3 separate regions of the Homo sapiens genome follow, and regions 2 and 3 are each linked to region 1. Evidence: promoter capture Hi-C in 16 types of primary human blood cells and fetal thymus (Javierre and others, 2016). All regions are on one chromosome and are shown on one strand. Each heading gives the region's core, a stretch centred on a gene start or on the middle of the fragment in contact. The rest is flanking DNA. Distances are from core to core; before and after follow the strand shown. Region 1 holds the start of CFAP36 (cilia and flagella associated protein 36). Region 2 overlaps CCDC88A (coiled-coil domain containing 88A). Region 3 overlaps PPP4R3B (protein phosphatase 4 regulatory subunit 3B).

What was found. The method cuts DNA at HindIII sites, captures the fragments that hold promoters and counts their contacts. A CHiCAGO score of 5 or more calls a contact.
Region 2: a contact is called between a fragment that was not itself captured here and the fragment with the promoter of CFAP36 in region 1, in 2 of 17 cell types (M1 macrophages and M2 macrophages). The highest score is 5.2, in M1 macrophages.
Region 3: a fragment that was not itself captured here is called in contact with the fragment with the promoter of CFAP36 in region 1 in 1 of 17 cell types (M1 macrophages); the score reaches 5.1 in M1 macrophages.

Annotation. Positions count from the first base shown.
Region 1 is chr2:55,518,468-55,522,793 of GRCh38, reverse strand. It overlaps CFAP36 (cilia and flagella associated protein 36), which reads right to left and starts at 3,076. Exons shown (of 10, transcript NM_080667.7): 1 at 2,878-3,076; 2 at 628-692. The coding sequence starts at 2,992. RefSeq lists enhancers at 2,296-2,545, 3,726-3,775. The HindIII fragment of the contact is 7,670 bases long and covers 1,225-4,326 here.
Region 2 is chr2:55,396,277-55,400,602 of GRCh38, reverse strand. All of the region lies in intron 2 of CCDC88A (coiled-coil domain containing 88A), which reads left to right. Among named protein-coding and RNA genes, the nearest start is that of CCDC88A, 21 kb to the left of the region's middle. The HindIII fragment of the contact is 5,201 bases long and covers 1-4,326 here.
Region 3 is chr2:55,589,804-55,594,129 of GRCh38, reverse strand. The region is part of intron 4 of PPP4R3B (protein phosphatase 4 regulatory subunit 3B); the gene reads left to right. Among named protein-coding and RNA genes, the nearest start is that of PPP4R3B, 26 kb to the left of the region's middle. The HindIII fragment of the contact is 2,041 bases long and covers 1,457-3,497 here.

The sequences.
Region 1 (4,326 bases), core at 1,827-4,326:
TCACAAGACAGGCTGGGCAGTGGCTCACACCTGTAAACCCAACACTTTGGGAGGCCCAGGCAGGTGGATCACTTGAGCTCTGGAGTTCCACACCAGCCTGGGAAACACAGAGAAACGCCATCTCTACAAAATACAAAAAAATTAGCAGGGCATGGTGGTGCACACCTGTAGTCCCAGCTACTCAGGTGGCTGAGATGGGAGGATCGCTTGAGCCTGGGGAGGTTGAGGCTGCAATAGGCTGTGATAGTGCCACTGCACTCCAGCCTGGGTGACAGAGCAAGACCCTGTCTCAAAAATAAAAAATAAAAAAATCACATGACAACCATGACGAAGTGAATAATTAATATGTCCCTGGATGCGTCAACAAAATAAGAATAAGATATAAAGAATACATGCAAGAACCCATAAAGAGTTGTAAAACCATTCCTTAGAGTAGAGGAGATAAGTCATCCAAATGAGATATTCAGAGCACCTGTGGAGACAGATATAACTGGCACTATTGTTAAGGTAGATTGGATTTTTGTAAAATTAAGGATTTTTAATGTAAAAATATTTTTCTTCATTTAGAAAAGCTATAAGTAGTATTAGCCTAATTACTTTTAAAAATCAGTGAAAAAAAATACTCACTAGTTCTTTGTATTCCTGATGAATCTCTGTATAGGTCAATTTGCTTTCTTCTTCATCATCAAAAACTAAATTTAAAAGAAAATATTACATAGTGTAAAAACCAAATCATTTTATTAATGCAAATTTAAAAATCCACTCCTTCCAAATAGAACTGTCAACCTAGCTCTTCAGCTTTGAATTCTTAGGGTTTATCTTTTAAAAATATATAAATGAATATATCTAAAAATATATACTATTGGCCGAGCACTGTGGCTCATGCCTGTAATCCCAGCACTTTCGGAGGCCAAGGTGGGTGGATCACCTACGATCAGGAGTTCGAGACCAGCCTGGCTGATGTGGTGAAATCCCATCTCTACTAAAAATACAAAAATCAGCCAGGCGTGGTTGTGCGCGCCTGTAGACCCAGCTACTCGGGAGGCTGAGGCAAGAGAATTGCTTGAACCCAGGAGGCGGAGGTTGCAGTGAGCCAAGATTGCACCACTGCACTCCAGCCTGGGCGGCAGAGTGAGACTCCATCTCAAAAAAAAAAAAGAAAAAAAAATATACACACACACACACACACACACACACATATATACTATTAATTGTAAACAAGCTTTTTTGCCTACTTGAGAAAATATTTAAAATGAATACTACCTCATATTTAAGACAAAAACACATTTCAATCAATATGAGGCAATAATTTCTTCATAACTTTTAATGTAATATTATTGTTAATGGTTAAATCCTTTTACAATAGGTTCCATATTATTTTATTGTACTGGAATTTTGCTGATGTAAATGTTACTGAAAGTGACCAGGCAATTTTTGTTACCACAGATAAATAATGAAGTTAAATAAAATCAAAACAAGTGTTTACTGAATGATCATATGTATAAAACAATGCAGTGAGCCAAGATCACGCCACTGCACTCCAGCCTGGGCAACAGAGCGACACTCTGTCTCCCAAAAAAAAAAAAAAAAAAGGAGTACAAATACAAGTTATTTTGTTTTTGAACATTGTTAAAAAATTACCTGTAAAAATAACACTTTAATAACTACGATTTGAATATTGATTATAGCAATGAAAATGTAATGAAAAGATTCAGTGGTCAAACTGAATTTCATCTTTACCAGATTCATGATATCTTGGAATTTAAAGAAGTCTTAAAAGGTCATCCAGGATAACCGACCATTTGATAGCTGAATAGCTGAATCCCTCTAACCCTATTAAGTCGCTATCAGATCCATTCAAACACTGCTGGAGCCGGGAAGCTCATTACCTTCTGAGGCTGGCTAACTCATCTTGGATACATTCTATCATGAAACACTTCCTTCACTGAAATTTGTTTCCCTGTAGCTTGTACCAACTGACCCTAGCTCTATTCTACTCAACCTTACAACACAAAGCAGATGTTCAAATAATTGATGAATACTACTACCCTCAAAGTCTTGCCCGATTAAACAACCACAATAACGCTTGGGCACTCATTTATATGACGTGGTTTCTGGTTCCTTTTCTGCGAATGGGCTGCAAATAGTCTCCACGAACTGAATGCAGAACTCCAAGCCTGAAGAACTGCTCAGAACCCGGAGATGCCTGTCCTTCACGGGGAATATTATGCCATATCTATACGCCTCATTTGTTCCAAGAATGGTCCTGCCCCACCTCGCCAATTTTTGGTATAGCGAAGAGTAGAGAGCTCACCAAGGGGAACACAGGCCACCAAAATCACCGGCTCTGGGCTTCCTGGAGTTATCACATGCCCTCCTTTGCAGTTAACTGTTGGTTTGGAGTGAAATCATTTCTCATTTCCTAAGCTGACTACACCGGGCGAAATGCTAGGGATCATAAGGAACTCAGGTAAACCGACGCTTCTCCTCTCAAGTCTGGCAAAGCTGTTGAAGAAGCCCAGCCAAACAGTCCACCTGCCGAGGGCAGAAACGTTCGGGACAGGGTGAGAGACCGAATTTACGATTCAAGTCTAATGTTCTTCGGACGTGCGCTTCGGCCCCAGAGAAGGGGAGTCTCGGTCCCCGTTTTCAGGTCTGCGAAGGAACACATTGGCAGGGTGAAAGGAATTCCTCCCACACAACCAGCTCTAAACCTGATGACGCGGGTGGAGAAGGTGGTGAGGGGAACGAGACCTTGCGACAGGGGTGGAGACAGGGGGTCGGGGAGACGAGAGATGGCTTGTGGTTACCAACCCCCTGCCCGCCGCTGGTGTGAGAGAGGAGAAAAGGATTGTCGGTTCGGGCTCTGGTTTTTACCTTCACATTTCTGTTCCACAAAGTCCAAGATGGGGATGGACCAGTCTGGGCCTCGCAGGAACCCCGCGATGCTCTCCACTACCCACTCCACCTCGTCTTCTTCTTCCGCAGCCATCCCGCCCCAAAGGGGCAACGGGGAAGATCCCTAGGCCAGACCGCCGGACCCCGGTTAGGCCTTTGGGCCACAAGGAGCCGAGAGGGAGTAGGGGAAGAGCTGGCCCGCAGTCGCTCAGCCCCCAGGATAGAAGCTACCAACCAGTTAATGCAAAATGGTCGCTATGGCAACACACGTAGCCGCCCTAGACCGCGGCCCGGAAGTGAAGACAACTTTCCAGGAGCCTGCGCACTTAGCGGGGAGGGCAAACGTTTGAAAAACGTTTCTGATTGGTTAAAAAAGAACAGTGGACGAGGGCTGAGAAAAGAAGTGTAGCTATTGGCTGGAAGTCATAGACAGATTGCGCTCTCTCTTCTGATAAATGCGTAGGAGCCAAGGTTTAGAAAACGCGCAGTAGACGGGCGCGGTGGCTCACGCCTGTAATTCCAGCACTTTGGGAGGCCGAGGCTTGCGGATCACCTGAGGTCAGGAGGTCGAGACCAGCTTGGCCAACATGGTGAAACCTCGTCTCTACCAAAAATACAAAAATTAGCCTGGCGTGGTGGCGCCGCCTGTAATCCCAGGTACTCGGGAGGCTGAGGCAGGAGAATCGCTTGAACCCGGGAAGCCGAGGTTGCAGTGAGCCACTGCACTGCAGCCTGGGAGACTGCGTCTCAAAAGAAAAACAGGAAGAAAGAAAAGAAAAAAGAAAAGGCTCAGTGAGGGTCTGAGGTAACCGGGTCTCCACCTGACAGGGCTTCAGCGGCTGCAGTTCATCATTGTATCCCCAGCACCTCAGTCCCAACCATTTTCAGACCATTGGCCCAGAGGCGTTTGTAATTAAAGGGTTGTCTGAAAATACAAAGCCGAGCTGTGTGAGACTCGCTGATTGTCTTACGGTCAGTTTGCATCTGTATCTTCAGGCGGGTCTTTAATCTCTTACGCTTGGATAAAGATAACTAGAATTAGGAGCTTTTCAAGGGCAAGAGCAAAGTTAATACTCACTTAAATAAATGCCTTGGTAACCAAATCTTATTATAACTCCAACTCAGCATTTAGGTGGAGTCCATTGTGGAATGGGGTCTTCAGTGGTCATTGTGAAGGTGTTTGGAGTCCCAAAATATCTTCAGACAACCATATATATATATATATTTTTTACATAAATAGGATTATATGTACAGTTATGAATTTTTTTCTTATATCTTTATCTTTTAAAAATATAAATTTGTGCTTTCTTTGCAACTGCATAGTATTCCATAAACCATCCTTTAGTCTATTTTTATTTTGTGAATGTGCACACAGTATCTTACCTGAATGCATGAAGATGATCATTATGTGCCTTTTTTTTTTTTTTT
Region 2 (4,326 bases), core at 586-3,085, 120 kb after region 1:
ATCTTTTTTCCTGATTTACAAATTTTTATATACAGTGGTTGATAATACTACTGTCCGTTTATTATTTTAATTGAAATTAATGCAACTTGTCATAAGTAGATCATTTATAAATGTGAAATTGCTTGAGGCCCTCTTTTACTGCCATGTTGCATTTAACTCCTGGTTGGACAGATTTGAGCCATATTGCTAGGCTATTTGTCACTAAAGCATTTTTTTAGTTTTCATCTTATAAAGAAGATGGTTGACTTGAAATTGTGTTGCCTTGGAAATAGCTGTGTGTGATTGGAAAGGTACTTGCTCACGTTTGACATGTCACATGTATATTGTTCAGTAGCTCATCTTTTATTTTAGAAAACGGCCTTTCCAAAGATACATTCTTTAGAAAAAAATGGTATAGTATGCTTTCAAAAAGAGCCTGATAAAAACTTTATTAATTGTGATTATTCTGAATTAATTTTTGTTTTGCATTTTAAGTATTAAAATGAAAGGCAGAATATTTGGAATATTTAATAGACTACATTTTCTCTTTAGAGAATTCTGTGAGTCATACTTAATAGACTACATTTCTTTTTAGAGCATTCTGGAGTCATACCATACTGTTTGTTTAAATTACTGTATTGTGATTTTTATTATATTAAAAGTAATAGAATACAGGATTCAACCTGAGGAAGCTGATAAAAACACACACACACAGGAATGAGTGTTTTTTCTGTCTTTATATAGGATGCATTCTTTTTATAGAAGAAATTTTTAATACTGTTTTCTTTTCTTATGGTTTATGCTTAGTCTCACAAATGTCTTATGACTCTGAATTCCTGACATCGAATTCTATGCAGAGATAGCTTTATCAAATGTGCTTCAGCTAAGTAACAATCCAACACAATTATTAATATTTTTCCCTCAGGTAAATGAAATAGGTTTCATGAAACAATAAAAAGTCCTTAAAAAATGTTTTACGTGCTTAAAAAATTAATTAGTACCAAAAGGTTCACAGTGACAAACAAAAATTCTCTGCTGTATTTCTCCTCATATCTCAGTTCAGTTCTCTGGAGTGCCACTTTTTTTTTTTTTTTTTTGAGACAGAGTCTCATTCTGTCGCCCAGGCTGGAGTACAGTGGCGCAATCTCGGCTCACTGCAACCTCCGCCTCCCAGCTCAAGCAATTCTCTGCCTCAGCCTCCTGAATAACTGGGATTACAGGCACCCACCACCACGCCCAGCTAATTTTTTTTTTAATTTTTAGTAGAGACGGGGTTTCACCATCTTGGCCAGGCTGGTCTTGAACTCCTGACCTCATGATCCACCCGCCTTGACCTCCCAGGCATGAGCCTCTGTGCCTGGCCCAGAGTGACAGCTTTTTAAACTTTTTTAAAAGCAATTTCTTCTGTTATTTAGCCCATATATAGGGATAATGTGTCTATTCTGGTATTTCTTGATTTATTCCTTTTAGACATTGTCTATGACTTCCTGATAGTGGTAGATAAGATTTTATCTTTTTTATGCTCCTGTATTTCTTCTTACCCTATCTTTCTAATATAGTTAACACAGGTTTAGTTAAATCAGTCATCAGTATTTACATTATTATAACTATATAATATTTACTGCAAAGCCAGGTATTATTTTTCCGAAGCTACTAATTCTCTTGATTTGCATAATTTTCTATAAATTACCCTTAAAGAGTCAACCATTTTTCATGGAGGTGGAGCTTAGGACTTTTCTTTCTTTCTTTTTTTTTTTGTTAGGCAGGGTCTTGCTCTGTCACCCAGGTGGGAGTGCGATGGTATAATCACAGTCCACTGCAGCCTCAAACTCCTGGGCTCAAGCAATCTTCCTGCCTCATTTTTAAATTTTTTTGTGGAGATGAGGTTTCACTGTGTTGCCCAGGGTAGTCTTGAACTCCTGGGCTTACACAATCCTCTTGCTTTGGCCTTCCAAAGTGCTGGGATTACAGGCGTAAGCCATCGTTGCCAGCCCAGGAGCTTAGGACTTTTCTGGTAGTTTCACCTGAGGGCAGTCCCTCTCACCTAAAGAGATCACATCCTTAGGGTGAAAAGGCCTGTTTTCCGTGATCCTAACATGTGTCAGTATGGCCCTTACTCAAACTGGGCATGCATCAAATGGGAAACTCAAGCCTTATAATGGGAAGTTTATTGCTTTCTAGATCCATGCCGAGAGTGCTTAATGGTTATCCTGGGCTCTAAGTACAGATAGTTTATAGTAATAGATAATGATATAATATCTGATGATTATAAAGAAATAGGAACTTTTCAGTTCTGTTTTCATACTAAAATAACTCTTGAGTAGGTACAATGTAGAACAGAAGTTACAGATAGAGGTTTGGGGTGCTTAGGTATTAGCCTGTTCAAGAACTCCGCTATTCTATTGGCTTTCCTAGAGTCAAATCAGAGCATAGAAATCCCTTCACAGCCCACGTACTTATTTCATAGATTTGTAGACACAAAGCAGCACAGTTTTGTGAAGGGATATAAAAAATTTTCATTCACCTATCTTTAAGATCCCTTTTGATTGTGAGGTTAATTTTAGGTGTTGAAGTACTTTTCTCTCAAATATTTAAATTTTATTTTTCATTTTTCTTCAGATTTCTAAAATTACATCTGATATCATTAGTATATAACTATATAATTCCTTCCTTTTATACCCAGAATTATTTTAATTGTTAAAAGCAGTCTTTTGCAAAGTCTAAAAAAACTTAATATAAAACATTAATTTTTTTTACAAAAAATTCTTAAAAGATTTTGATTAAACCAAAATTCTAAATTCTGAAAACTTGCTAATTCTTGAAAGAGCTGTATGCAGCGACTGTAGAATTTCCTGACAACTGAATACATTTCAAGATATCATGTGAGGAATATTGGACACAAAATTTAAGAAGAAGCATTAACACTTTTTTTGAAAAAAATCACTTTAAAGGAAACAAACTTGACAACAACTCTGTCAGGGACAAAGATAGCATTTACATTATAAAATGTATTAAAATAATGATATTACTATATGTTCATTAGAATATTATGCATCCAAAGTATAATATAATCCAAATTATGCATTTGGATTATCCAAATTATGCATTTGGATAATCCAAATTAGTATAATCCAAATTGTATATTGTCATGTAGTAATGAGCTTGCACTACAAATAATACAGTTTTTAAATTTATATATATTTTTAGTTCTAATATTAAATTTTTCTTAGGTTGGACACGGTGGCTTACGCTTGTTGTCCCAGCACTTTGGGAGGCCAAAGCGGGAGGATCACTTGAGGCCAGGAGTTCGAGACCAGCCTGGTCTACATGGTGAAACCCCGTCTCTCCTAAAAATACAAAAATTAGTCAGGTGTGGTGGTGGGTGCCTGTAATCCCAGCTACTTGGGAGGCTGAGGCAGGAGAATTGCATGAACCCAGGAGGCAGCGAGCGGTTGCATTGAGCTGAGATCATGCCACAGCGCTCCAGCCTGGGTGACAGAGCGAGACTCCATCTCAAAAAAAATTTTTTTTTCTTAGGTACCTATTGTTTGATTTAAATATCCAGGTTTATAATAAAATATCACCACAGTGAACTGGAGGAGGGAAGGAAATTAATCATCTTTAGTTTGATTACTCATGTGAAAACAGAATTGGGAATATGCTCAAACAATACAGTAAAACAGTGATATATGATGTACACTCGGGTTTTAGAAAAAACATTGCTGAAACCCTTTTTTTTTTTTTTTTTTTTTTTGAGATGGAGTCTTGCTCCGTTGCCCAGGCTGCAGTGCAGTGGCGTGATCTCGGCTCACTGCAAACTCAGCCTCCCGGGTTCATGCCATTCTCCTGCCTCAGCCTCCCGAGTAGCTAGGACTACAGGTGCCTGCCACCACGCCTGGCTAATTTTTTGTATTTTTAGTAGAGATGAGGTTTCACCTTGTTAGCCAGGATGGTCTCGATCTCCAGACCTCGTGATCTGCCCGCCTCAGCCTCCCAAAGTGCTGGGATTACAGGTGTGAGCCACCGCACCCAGGTGCAACCTTTTTTTTTAAGTCAGACTTTTCTTTGTTTTCTTGAATGATCCTATAAAAGGAAAAACTAAAAGAGTAAAAGAGCTCTAGGATCCTAGGCAGATTACTAGTTTGAACTTTGGCTTTCTGATTTATGGTGAAACCAGGTATCTCTAAAGTGTTTCTAGGTCTAAATGTGGTCAGTGTGTGAATAGGAGACAGTCATAGATGAGAGGTATGTAAGGGATTCAAATGTAGAATAAAGAAAATAGAAATAAAAGGTAGAAGAAGGGTAGAGAGGAAAGGTATTTACTGAAAATGTTTGCAAATGAAATTT
Region 3 (4,326 bases), core at 1,228-3,727, 72 kb before region 1:
CTGTTATTTCCATCTTAATGTCCTTGTGTACCCACTTGTAAGTGAGAACATGCGATATATGATTTTCTGCCTCTGAGTTCACTTAGGATAATGGCCTCCAGCTCCATTCATGTTGCTACAAAAGACATGATTTCATTATTTTTTAACATTTCATTTGTATTCCACAGTGTATATATACACCCCATTTTCTTTGTCTGATCATCTGTTGGTAGACACTTAGGTGGGTTCCATGACTTTGCTATCATGAATAGTGCTGCGATCAATATACAAGTGCAGGTGTCTTTTTAATATAATGCTTTTTTTTCCTTTGGGTATGAATTGTGTTTTCAACTATGTGTGAAAAGGAAAGAAATAAGATTGTGGCCAGTGGTCTCTATTTTATTTTATTTTTTGTAGAGGTGGGGTTTTGCTATGTTGCCTAAACTGTTCTTACCTGGCCTCAAGCAATCCTAGTGCCCAGCCTTCCAAAGTGTTGGGATTACAGATGTGAACCACCACACCTGGCCCTACAGTGGCCTCTAAGCACTTATTTCCTAAAGTCTCACTCTGAGATTTCCATGTAGAAATTTTTGGTTAGGTAGTAGGTGTTTCTAGATACCTATCTGGGTATCTAGTACACTTACCTGTGGTTTCTTAAATGCGCATTAACTTGCTGCTGTGTGAGTTGTAGAAGGCAAGTGAATATGTAAGAATTTTATGTAACTGGGCCGAAGTGAGGTAGTACGAAGGTCCTTATCATAAATCCTAGCTTAAATTAGGTTAATTAACTGAGAAATTATATGAGAGTACTTAGCATAGTCAGTGGCTCCTAGTATGTGTGCTAATACATGTTGACAATATCTTAAGCATGATAGGGACATAAGACTTTAGTGACTCCAAATGTTCTAGCTAATTGCAGATCAAAATCCCCTGTGCCCAGAATTGAGCAACATTCTTTTAAAATATTTTAGAAATTATTTATTTATTTATTTTGAGACAGAGTCTCGCTCTGTCACCCAGGCTGGAGTGCAGTGGCGCCATCTTGGCTCACTGCAGCCTCTGCCTCCCAGGTTAAAGTGATTCTCAAGCCTCAGCCTCCTGGGAGCTGGGATTACAGGCAGCAGCCACCATGCCTGGCTAATTTTTGTATTTTTAGTATAGACAGTTTCACCATGTTGGCCAGGCTGGTCTTGAACTCCCAACCTCAGGTGATCCACCCGCCTCAGCCTACCAAAGTGCTGGGATTACAGGCATGAGCCACTGCCCCCAGCCAGAAATTAAATTTTTGAAAGCAAGTAAAATGAGATTATTTCTGCACAAACAGTTATAGAATAAGATCCTTTTCAGAACAAAGTTTTAATTTCTCTCCTTACTAGAAATGATGGAGGATAGGAATCTCAAATGTTGACATTTTAACACATTTACATATATTATATTATATACATATTTCTGCTATTCCATAGGTAAGAGTTAAGCTTAAAATTAGCCCAGCAGGATTAGCGGTTTAGTTCTCTTTTTAACATATTTTGCAGATGCTAAGGTTTTGGCACGGAAAGAGAAAAATTTCTAACTTCCCATCCCAGTTACAGATTAAGTATGTAAAATCTTCAGATACTCTTTAAAAAACTGTTTAGAGTAATAGGGCTTTTCATTTTGTTTTTAGGATTTTTCTTTGGATTCAAGTACAGGATTTAATATATTAAATTTTATCTTACTAGATTTGGCCCATTCCAGCTTTGTGTATCTTTTGCTTTGGTTTGATTCATACGTTTGAAGTTTGAAATACTTGGAAACCTGTCTTGTGGTTTACTTAGTAGGAGTGACAAAAACCTCATTAATTATTTGGGAGGCCTGGATTCTAAATCCATCTGTCACTAGCTACCCTCAGAAAGGTTCACTTTTTGAACCTCAGTCTCTTGAAATTTAAAATTGGACTTGACAGTCTCTGTAATGTTGCAAAATCTGATTTAATTCTAAATTTCTGTGTTTATATGTTTCTAAAAATGAATGGGTTCTGTTTTTTCTTTTGTTTGGCCTGTATTTATATTACTGCAAAGAGAAGAGTTTGATTTAGACTGTTTAGAAGCAACCTCTTTTTTTCCCCACAGTGTTTTTTTATGTTGTCCAGAAAAGCAGCCACACAAGTTTTGACTTAAATATATAGGTTTTATTAAAACAAAAGCTGTTAAAACCAAATAGAAAAGAAAAACTAAAAGAGATTAGTTTGATTACTTGGAGAACCAGAGATTTTGGAGTAAGTATTTCAACTATATGATAGGCTTTAAGTTATTGATTATTTGCTTCCTTCATAAATATATTGGAACAGAGTGCTTTTATAGCTTAATGAATAATAGCCAGAGTAATGCTGGAAATCAGGGAAAAAATACTAGGAATACATATTCTCTTAATGGACTGTAATAATTGAGATTGCCTCTATCTGTAATATTTTATGCAGTTCTACTTATCAGCTCACAAGTACCGAATCATATAAGAAGAATTCAAGTGGGAAATTGCATTTATCAAGGAGTTGGAACTTTTTTCTTATGAAAATATTTTGAAAAAATTAAATTTTCAGGTAGTAAAGGATGAAGATGTAATCTACAACAGATGCAGGAAAATAGAAATTTATAAAAGGTGTGAATGGAGGTAAATATGTACTTACTCACCCTAACCTAAAATATTAAGACTAAAAGTATTTGGAAAAAGTAGGCTGGGCATGGTGGCTCATGCCTGTAGTCCTAGCACTTTGGGAGGCTGAGGTGGGAGGATTGCTTGAGGCCAGGAGTTCGATACCAGCCTGGGCAACAAAGTGAAACCCCCCCATCTGTACAAAAAATTAAAAAAAAAATAGCCAGGTATGGTGGCACGTGCCCGCAGTCTCTGTTACATGGGAGTCTGAGGGAGGAAGATTGCTTGAGTCCAGGAGGTCGAGGCTACACTGAGCCACGTTTGTACCACTGCACTCCAGCCTGGGCAACAGAGTGAGACTCTAGAAAAAAAAAAAAAGGAAAAACTAACTTGAGGGCTAAATAAAAGATTACATATGCATATAAACTCCCTCAAAAGATGGATGTTCAGGCTGCAGTGCATAAGGTCCAAAAGGAGTCAATGAAATACGAAAAGAAACACCTGAGTCAGACTAATTAAATGACTCAGACACATTCTGAGTCAGACTAATTAAGTGATTCATCTCCCAGTGTCTTGTCTTTGAGTAGCACCAATTGATTTTTAGTAGAAGAGCATGTTATACTCTCTGATTGTACCTAGTGGTTTCTATTCATTTTTTAAAAATACATGTTCCACGTTATTTCAAAAAGGATTTAAGGGATTGATACCATTTAATGGATGATCCTCAGTAAGAAAAAGGACAGGTAGTTGGGGTGTATCCTTTAAATGTTAGGGTTTTATTTTACTATCAACTCTACAGATACTATTGTTACAAACTTTTTTAGAACATGTTACTTTAAATTAATGGAAATTACATTTCATAAAAATGAATTTTGAAGATAACTGAAGCTTAAAACCACCAACAATTTCCATCAGTTTTTTTAGCAGATTTTGATGAAATCTCTAAGGTGAATTTTAATATTTTTGCCCATTTTTTCCTTTGTAATTTAGTCTGTGCTTATTGTAGAAAATTAGAAAATATAGATAACCAAAAAGAAAATCACTCATAACCTATCACCAATTAGAAAATATAGATAACCAAAAAAGAAAATCACTCATAACCTATCAGCAAGCAGTAACCACAGTTAACAGTCTAACCGGTACTCCTAGACTTTAGACAAACAAATTTATTTATTATTATTATTTTGTTGTTGTTGAGACGGAGTTTCACTCTTGTTGCCCAGGCTGGACTGCAATGGCGCAATCTCGGCTCACTGCAACCTCCGCCTCCCAGGTTCAAGCGATTCTCCTGCCTCAGCCTCCCTAGTAGCTAGGATTACAGGCATGTGCCACCATGCCTGGCTAGTTTTGTATTTTTAGTGGAGACGGGGTTTCTCCATGTTGGTCAAGCTGGTCTGGAACTTCCGACCTCAGGTGATCCCCCCGCCTCAGCCTCCCAAAGTGCTGGGATTACACGCATGAGCCACCACACCTGGCCCACAAATTTATTTTTTAAAAATGCGTGCTTGACTATATATATATTATATATATATAATATATTAAATATATATATAAATATATATATAATTATATATATTTTTTATATATATATAATTTTTTTTTTTTTTGAGATGGAGTCTCGCTCTTTTGTCCAGGCTGGAATACAGTGGCACAATCTCGGCTCACTGCAAGCTCCCCCTCCCGGGTTCACGCCATTCTCCTGCCTCAGCCTCCCAGGTA